3 separate regions of the Homo sapiens genome follow, and regions 1 and 3 are each linked to region 2. Evidence: promoter capture Hi-C in 16 types of primary human blood cells and fetal thymus (Javierre and others, 2016). All regions are on one chromosome and are shown on one strand. The core of a region is centred on a gene start or on the middle of the fragment in contact, and the rest is flanking DNA. Distances in the headings are between cores, read along the strand shown. Region 1 overlaps MICU2 (mitochondrial calcium uptake 2). Region 2 holds the start of SKA3 (spindle and kinetochore associated complex subunit 3). Region 3 holds the start of ZDHHC20 (zDHHC palmitoyltransferase 20).

The links. The method cuts DNA at HindIII sites, captures the fragments that hold promoters and counts their contacts. A CHiCAGO score of 5 or more calls a contact.
Region 1: a fragment that was not itself captured here is called in contact with the fragment with the promoter of SKA3 in region 2 in 4 of 17 cell types (fetal thymus, total B cells, M2 macrophages and 1 more); the score reaches 7.1 in fetal thymus.
Region 3: a contact is called between the fragment with the promoter of ZDHHC20 here and the fragment with the promoter of SKA3 in region 2, in 15 of 17 cell types (total B cells, total CD4 T cells, fetal thymus and 12 more). The highest score is 18.5, in total B cells.

Annotation. Positions count from the first base shown.
Region 1 is chr13:21,497,347-21,500,148 of GRCh38, forward strand. All of the region lies in intron 9 of MICU2 (mitochondrial calcium uptake 2), which reads right to left. Among named protein-coding and RNA genes, the nearest start is that of ZDHHC20, 39 kb to the left of the region's middle. The HindIII fragment of the contact is 9,764 bases long and covers 1-2,802 here.
Region 2 is chr13:21,175,224-21,177,923 of GRCh38, forward strand. SKA3 (spindle and kinetochore associated complex subunit 3) reads right to left here and starts at 1,329. Exons shown (of 9, transcript NM_145061.6): 1 at 1,152-1,329. The coding sequence starts at 1,254. MRPL57 (mitochondrial ribosomal protein L57) reads left to right here and starts at 1,435. Exons shown (of 2, transcript NM_024026.5): 1 at 1,435-1,494; 2 at 1,689-2,700. The coding sequence starts at 1,694. The coding sequence ends at 2,002. RefSeq lists enhancers at 1-124, 847-1,569, 1,585-1,904. The HindIII fragment of the contact is 19,534 bases long and covers 1-2,700 here.
Region 3 is chr13:21,457,847-21,460,768 of GRCh38, forward strand. ZDHHC20 (zDHHC palmitoyltransferase 20) reads right to left here and starts at 1,457. Exons shown (of 13, transcript NM_001330059.2): 1 at 1,208-1,457. The coding sequence starts at 1,325. It overlaps LOC124903131 (a long non-coding RNA gene), which reads left to right and starts at 1,701. Exons shown (of 2, transcript XR_007063713.1): 1 at 1,701-2,333; 2 at 2,537-2,800. RefSeq lists a silencer at 1,370-1,749, an enhancer at 1,613-1,782 and a cis regulatory region at 1,698. The HindIII fragment of the contact is 7,258 bases long and covers 1-2,922 here.

The DNA of each region.
Region 1 (2,802 bases), core at 105-2,604, 320 kb after region 2:
GGAGTGAGACTCTGTGTAAAAACAAACAAATAAATAAAAAAGTTAAAAGAAAACTCAGTTTTTTCCATTAAAACAATAAAAGCTGGGTACGGTGGTTCCTGACTGCAATCACAGCACTTTGGAAGGCTGAGGTGGCCGGACTGCCTGAGCTCAGGAGTTGGAGACCAGACTGGGCAACATGGTGAAACCCCCATCTCTACAAAAAATACAAAAATTAGCCAGGCACGGTGGCATGTGCCTGTGGTCCCAGCGACTGAGGAGGCTTAGGCAGAAGGATCCCTTGAGCACAGGAGTTTGAGGTTATAGTGAGCTAACTGCACCACTGCACTTCAGCCTGGGCAACAGAGCAAGACCCTGTCTCAAAAACAAACAAACAAAACAAAAGTAAACAAAGTATGAAAATTCTCTTAGTTTTTATCTTGTTTTTGAGATAGTGTTTCACTCTGTGACCCAGGCTGGAGTCCAGATCACAGCTCACTGCAGCCTTGAAATTCTGGGTTCAAGCTATCCTCCTGCCTCAGTCTCCCAAGTAGCTGGGACTACAGACACAGAGCACCACACCCAACTAATGTTTTTATTTCTGTTTTTAGTAGAGACGAGATCTCGCTATGTTTCTCAGGCTGGTTTCAAACTCCTGGGCTCAAGTGATCCTCCCACCTTAGCCTCAGAAAGTGCAGGGATTACAAGTGTCAGCCATTGTGTCCAGCTAAAAATTCTTAATTTGAAAGTAAATTCTTCCCTGCCTGAAAAAAAAAGTTTCTCTTTGTAGGATGCTGAGGATCATGCCCTCTGTAATGTGTGGTCTTACTCAAGGTTCACTGGTTTCCAGCTTTTGTGACTTCATGAAATTTTTATTTTTAAATATTTCAATAAAGTTTTTGAAAAAGTAATATGTGCACATGGTTAAAAATTCAAACAACATGAAGGATAAATGATGAAGAGTTCTTCCACTCTGATTCCCAGTTCCATTCCCCAGACATGAGTTACCAATTCCTTGTGTCTCCATCCAGAAATATCCTATTCTTTTTTTTTTTTTTTTTTTTTTTTTTTTTGAGACAGTCTCGCTCTGTCACCCAGGCTGAAGCGCAATGGCGCAATCTTGGCTCACTGCAACCTCTGCTTCCCAGGTTCAAGCAATTCTCCTGTCTCAGCCGCCTGAGTAGCTAGGACTGCAGGCACCCACCACCACGTCCGGCTAATTTTTGTATTTTCAGTAGAGATGGGGTTTCACCATATTGGTCAGGCTGGTCTCAAACTCCTGACCTCAGGTGATTCACCCACCTCAGCCTCCCAAAGTGCTGGGATTACAGGCGTGAGCCACCGCGCCTGGCTAATATTCTATTCTTATTAAAGTGTATACATGTACACACACGTCTCCTTGTTTTACACAATGGGAACAATCTCTTCACATATTTCTGTACCTTGCTTTATTCTCTTAACAGTATATTTACAAGATGATAGAGAGGGAAAAAAGGAAAAAAAAAAACCAGTGTATTTATCAGCACAAATAAGAGTGGCTGCTTCTATCATGACCTCGAAGTAGGCACTGGATGCAACTTTTTTGATGTCTGCTTTTCTGATAGATGAAAAATGGTATTTTATTAATGTTTGAATTTGCATGTCTTACGGAGTCTTGCTGTGTTGCCCAGTCTGGAGTGCAGTGGCGTGATCTTGGCTCACCAGAACCTCCGCCTCCCTCATTCAAGCGATTCTTCTGCCTCAGCCTCCTGAAAAGCTGTGATTACAGGCATGCGCCACCACGCCCCGCTAATTTTTGTATTTTTAGAAGAGACGGGGTTTCACCATGTTGACCAGGCTGGTCTCAAACTCCCGGCCTCAGGTGATCCACCTGCCTCGGCCTCCCAAAGTGCTGGAATTACAGGTGGGAGCCATAGGCCCGGCCTGAATTTGCATGTCTTCAATTGTGAATGAAGTTAAACATTTTTCACATGCTTATTAGTCATTTGTGGATTTCTCTTCTTGTGTCCTGTTTATGTCCTTTGCCCAGATTTCTAATGGGTTGTTAGGTAACTTACTGTGCGAGACCGTTCTCCATGGGTCTCACATTTCTTTTTTTTTTTGAGATGGAGTCTCGCTCTGTCACCCAGGCTGGAGTGCAGTAGCACAATCTCGGCTCCCTGCAAACTTCACCTCCTGGGTTCACACCAATTCTCCTGCCTCTGCCTCCCGAGTAGCTGGGACTACAGGCACCCGCCACCACGCCTGTCTAATTTTTTGTATTTTTAGTAGAGATGGGGTTTCACCATGTTAGCCAAGATGTTCTCAATCTTCTGACCTCATGATCTGCCCGCCTCGGCCTCCCAAAGTGCTGGGATTACAAGTTTGAGCCACCGTGCCCAGCTGGGTCTCACGTTTCTGTACATCTATCAGAGGCACCGACTGCATTTTTGTTCCAGATTATATCTTCGAGGATTTCACACCTGTAATCCCAGCACTTTGGGAGGCCGAGAGTTTGGGACCAGCCTGGCCAACAACACAGTGAAACCCATCTCTACTAAACATACAAAAATTGCGAGGCATGGTGGTATGCGCCTGTAATCCCAGCTACTCAGGAGGCTGAGGCAGGAGAATTGTTTGTATAGCGGACAGCACTGTTCCTCAGGAGCACAGGACAGCTTTGCTTACTGTCCAGTATCATGAATACACAATGCCTCCCACTGCAGCAAAGCTCAGGAAGGCTTGTTTACTTGCCCATTACAAAACATTCAGATCACTAAGATGAGGGTCCTCAGCTGTGATGTGAATCTGCTGTGTGGGCAGCATCTACCTGGGCCTCTCAGC
Region 2 (2,700 bases), core at 79-2,578:
CACCTCGGCCTCCCAAAATGCTGGGATTACAGGCGTGTGCCACCGTGCACGGCCAAATCTTTTTTTCTTTTTGAGACGGACTCTTGCTCTGTCGCCGAGGCTGGAGTGCAGTGGCGGATCTCGGCTCACTGCAAGTTCCGCCTCCCGGGTTCACGCCATTCTCCTACCTCAGCCTCCCGAGTAGCTGGGACTACCGGCGCCCGCCACCACGCCCGGCTAATTTTTTGTATTTTTAGTAGAGACGGGGTTTCACCGTGTTAGCCAGAATGGTCTCGATCTCCTGACCTTGTGATCCGCCCGCCTCAGCCTCCCAAAGTGCTAGGATTACAGGCGTGAGCCACCGCGCCGGGCAGAAATAGACATTTTCAAGTGACTGGAGATCATTCATTATATAATTAAAGTAAAAGTAGTCTGCAGGGTGTAATATTTTAAAGCACATTACAATTATGACATTTATGAAATAATTCCAAAATCTGAACTACTTTTTCAACAATTTAAAAAATCTCTAATAAAAAGGGGAATGGTGAATTTTGCTTTATTTATATACACATATTTTTTTAAACCCCAGCACTGTTGAGTACTAGTGTTTGTGTTGGCAACATGGTTTAGCGGGAAAAACACAGAGGTTTACTGCAACTGTGGACCACGTGAGTGAGAAAAAAGTCACTATATGTGTAAAGTATTGTGTAAAGAACGTTAAATAGCTTGATTCTAAGAGAAACTGTTTAGGTTTACATGGTATTTTACTGACAAGCACACATATTGTATGTGACGAAAGCATATCACGTATAAATTAGTATATGTATTATGAGCTCAATCTGTTAATTTAGGTTCTTATTCTTAAGTGCTGCTGTCTCTGTTTATAACGTAATAGTGCTACTTTCATTATCTCAAGAGAGCCGTGGGGTTGTACATGGGTCTAAAACGGACACGCGACAAGGGTTCCTAGGAATAAACCATAAACAGGCCCGGGAGCTACGCTAACGCCAAACGCCGAGCAGTGAGACGCGCAGCACCCGCCCTGCGCCTCGGTGGCAGCCGTCCACGCCGTCAGTGCCTGGCGGTTCCCGTGGGACATACCGTCCACTCGCCACGCCCCTCCGCCCGCGGCGCACCCCACGCACCGTGCCCTGGCCGCCCGCCTCACGCACCGCTTTCCTCTCCGTCCAGCGCTCGCTGCAGCCGGGCCGTCTCGCAGTCCAGCGTGCTGGCCAGAGACCGCAGCTTCCCGCAGAAGCTCCGGATAGGGTCCATGCTGAGCACAGCGGGGAAGGACTCCAGGCGTACGCAGACCCCACCGCTCAGCTCACAGCCTCCCGCCACTAGTTTGAATCTCGGCGCCGGACGCGTCCTCGGCTCTGCGCAGGCGCAGTCCTCTCTCGCGAGAGCCGAAGTCTCTCGCCGAGGCCCCAGGAGACCCCGCGAGACGGGTGCGCTTACGCCACGGCGTCTGCTGGCGGCCGCGGAGACGCAGAGTCTTGAGCAGCGCGGCAGGTGAGTAGCTGTGCGAATTCGGTTCTCTAGGGAGCTCCTTCTTCGCCTGCTGGCCTTACCTGGGCTCCCCGCTTCTCTGGAGGGGAGGCGGTGCGGGAACTCCCGTAGGCGTGAGCTGGAGCGCGCGCCCGCTGCTCTCTCCAGGTCCGGCCGCGCCAGTTCGCCTCCGCAAAGCCCGTCCCTCTCTTCCGCAGGCACCATGTTCCTGACTGCGCTCCTCTGGCGCGGCCGCATTCCCGGCCGTCAGTGGATCGGGAAGCACCGGCGGCCGCGGTTCGTGTCGTTGCGCGCCAAGCAGAACATGATCCGCCGCCTGGAGATCGAGGCGGAGAACCATTACTGGCTGAGCATGCCCTACATGACCCGGGAGCAGGAGCGCGGCCACGCCGCGGTGCGCAGGAGGGAGGCCTTCGAGGCCATAAAGGCGGCCGCCACTTCCAAGTTCCCCCCGCATAGATTCATTGCGGACCAGCTCGACCATCTCAATGTCACCAAGAAATGGTCCTAATCCTGAGTCGTCACCCTTGGATTTTATGGATCACGGAGCTGACCATCTTTACCTGGTCCTGGAACTGAAAAACTGTAGCTTGTGTGAAAATGAGCCTTTGGACCAGTCTTTATTAAAACAAACAAACATGAGTAGTCTGCATATCGAATATCTAGAGCTCTAAACCCCCAATACTTAAAAGTCTAATTGCTGTCCTGTGGTTTCATTAGTCTGATAGGAAGATAGGGATTTCCTCAGTCACAGATGATATTTTGAAGGAAAGCTGCAATAAAGCCACAATGATTTGAGGTCTTTGCTTAAGTATGAGATACTTGATGGGGGCTTTATCATGCAACATTAGTTTGCTTACCTTAAGAATTGCCCAAAAATGAAAGAAAATATGAGCTTTTCAGTTAAACATACTCCTAAAAACATTTTCCGGGATTTTACTACTAAAATTGGACATTTAAGCGAAGTAAAAGAGGCCGGGTGCGGTGGCTCACGCCTGTAATCCCAACACTTTAGGAGTCCAAGGCGGGCGGATCACTTGAGGTCAGGAGTTCAAGACCAGCTTGGCCAAGGTGATAAAACCCGTCTCTACTAATACAAAAAAAATTAGCTGGGTATGTTGGTGCAGGCTTGCAATCCCAGCTACTTGGGACGCTGAGGTGGGAGGATCGCCTGAACCTCAGAGGCAGAGGTTGCAATGAAGCGGAGGT
Region 3 (2,922 bases), core at 207-2,706, 280 kb after region 2:
TTCTAGCTGATGTGGTTCGTTATTCAAAGAACACTTAACAGTCCTTCATAAAATGGTAGATTCAGTCTAAGGACTAAGAGTAGAACATTCTGGAATAACAATAACGTTTACAAACACCACTTACCATTTGGTCCTAGGTTTTCATAAAAAATTGATATAGGCAGCAGATGTATACAGAACACCCTAGTTGAGGCCAGTTTAAGTGTAAAATACCCACATACTCAAAGCCTAAGAACAATTTACTTAAGACAAAACAATGTTGGAGAAATTGCCCAATATCACAAATGTAGCAGTCACCCCTAAACAGTGTTTTTGATTAATGACAACCAATTTCCTTCAATCTTAAAGGCAACCAATTCAAGCCAGTAGGTTAAATCCTTGAAGTATACTGCAATGCTACTCCTTTTTTCCAGGGAATCAGATGAGAATTTTGTGCTAAGAACTTATCAGGAAAATGGAAGTAACGAAAATTAACACGCCAAAATATGAGTATAAGAAATATAAGCCTCCTTAATAATCAGCCAAGAAAAAAATAATCAGGTTATGTCTCCTCCCACCCATTCTTTCTGTCTTAACCTTCTGCAAAAGCCGGCTGGATTCAGAGTAGAAATAAACGAATTTTACAATGAGTCGAGTACCACCAAAAATCAAAAGTGGGAGCTTACTCGTCCTCCAGGTCTGACCCGCCTCCAGCCCGAGGCCACCAAAAGACACACCTCCCTTCCCCCAACCCGCCACAGCCGGCTCTACAGGTAACAGGCGTTTCTTCTCGCGCAGTTTGAACAAAAACAATCCAGAAGGAACAGATTTGGTTTTTTAAAAAAAATGAACAAAAGCCAAAAAAGCCACAAACACAACCTAAACCTTCTAAGAAGCTCGACTACTCCCGTTCTGCACGTTCCTTCCCAGAAGGATGCAGACCCCCGGTGTCGGCGGGAACCAGGAAGCTCTTGGGGCCTCCCTGGGCCAGACCTGCACCCGGGAAGCCGCCGCAAGGCTTCAGGAGCCCCAGGTCGCCCCAAGGCCGCGCCGCAGGATTGAACAAAGCGGCGGGTGCAGCAACCTCGGCGCTTCCGAGCGCGTTCGGGGCCGGACGCCCGGCGTCCGGCGCTGGCTCCAGAAAGGCGGCGGGTGTGGGGCGCAGAGGCCTATCTCGCGCCCTAGCCGCGGCCCGCGCCCCGCCGCAGTCCCCGGGGACGGTACTCACACACGCAGAGCTCCACCACGTACGCGTAGTAGGACCAGACGACCACGAAGGTGATGAAGAGCACCGGCACCCAGCCCACGACGCGCTGGCAGCAGCGCCACAGCGTCCAGGGCGCCATGTTCCGCTGGCGGCTGCCGAGCCCCGCGTCCCACCGTTCTGGGGAGCGCGGGAGCCCCGGCGACGGTGACTCGGACGCTCCAGGCGGCTGCTGGTCCAGCTCCCCCGCCTCCGAGGCAGGACTTGTGGGAGCAAAAGTCCGAGGCGCCGCCGGGACTCCTCCCGTCCCGGCGCCCAGCCAGGCCCCGCCCCCACCCCACATCCCGTCGCCCCCCTCCCCCCGCGTCCGTCCCCGCCAGCCCGCCCGCCGCGGGCCGCGGGCCGCCCCCGGTCTCCGCGTCGTTGGGGCGGGGTTTCCGCGGCCGGGGAGGCGGTGAGGGGGCGGGGCCGCAGCTCGGGACCGCCCATGGGGCGTGGCGGGGCTGGATGCGGACAGGCTGGGCGGACGCGGGAGGCCGGGGAAGGAGAGGCGAAAAACACGCCCTTGATGGATGAGAGGGACAGGGGATAGCTTTTGTGGATCGAGACTCAATAGGGGAGGGAGACTATGGAAATGATTCCTTAGCTGATTTGTGGATCTTGGCCCTCTCTGTGTACAGAACTCGCTCCACTGGGGTTCCTGGGACATTGAGTAGTTGGGGCACTGTTTCAAACATGACAAGGCCATTCCCCACTCAGTGTGCGAAGAATGCACATTGTTAGAAGGCTCCTCCTGTGATTTTTATGTTCGTCCATCTTGGCGGAACCCCTCCCTTTCTTGAAGATGGAACGGTAGATACCTGTAATTTCGGGTAGAAGCCATGTAGGGTCCATCAGTTTGATTCGTAACCCAAATTTAAGATTGAGTAGCGAGAAGGAAAGGGCATGTAAATGACCCTCTCCTTGCCCCGCAAACGACTAAGGAAATTTAAAGAATTTATTTACAACTAGAGGTTGCTAAGCAATGACGATAATCATATAGAACCCAGAAGCATCACTGTGAAGACTTCACAATGCAAGGTCAGACGCATTAGAAGGGATTCCAGACCGCAATCTTCATACCAGTTCCTGCTACTAGCATTCAGTTTTGGTTAGAATGAATTTTTGTGTTTGTTTTTTGAAACAGGGTCTTCTCGCTCTGTCGCCCAAGCTGGAGTGCAGTGGCACGACCTGGGCTCATTTAAGCCTCGACCTCCCTGCTAAAGCACTCCTCCTGCTTCAGCCTGCAGAGTAGCAGGGACTACAGGCCCGCCACCATGCCCAGCTGATGTTTGTATTTTCTGTAAAAACTAGGTTTCGCCCTGTTGCCATGCTGGCCCTGAACTCCAAGGCTCAAGGAATCCCAACCCCTCTCCGCCTCCACCTCCCAAAGAAGTGCTGAGATTACAGGTGTGAGCCACCACGACCGGCCTACACTGAGCTTTAAATTAGCTACTGCTCACTAAAGTCTCCATGAAGAAGACGTCACCCTTTGCTGTGTCAGAGAAATGTAGTAAAAGCGAGTAAGTATTTAATCACTGCACACTGCTGCTTGAGTAATAAAGCATGTATAAAAGATTCTGTTCTCCCTGATTTTGTGCCTTAAAAGTCATATTAGTTAGTGGCCTAGTTGACAGTAGGTTTAGGTTCAAGTTCAACTAGTTTTCCAGAGAGGCTGCTTAGGAGGGTTAGACCTCAAC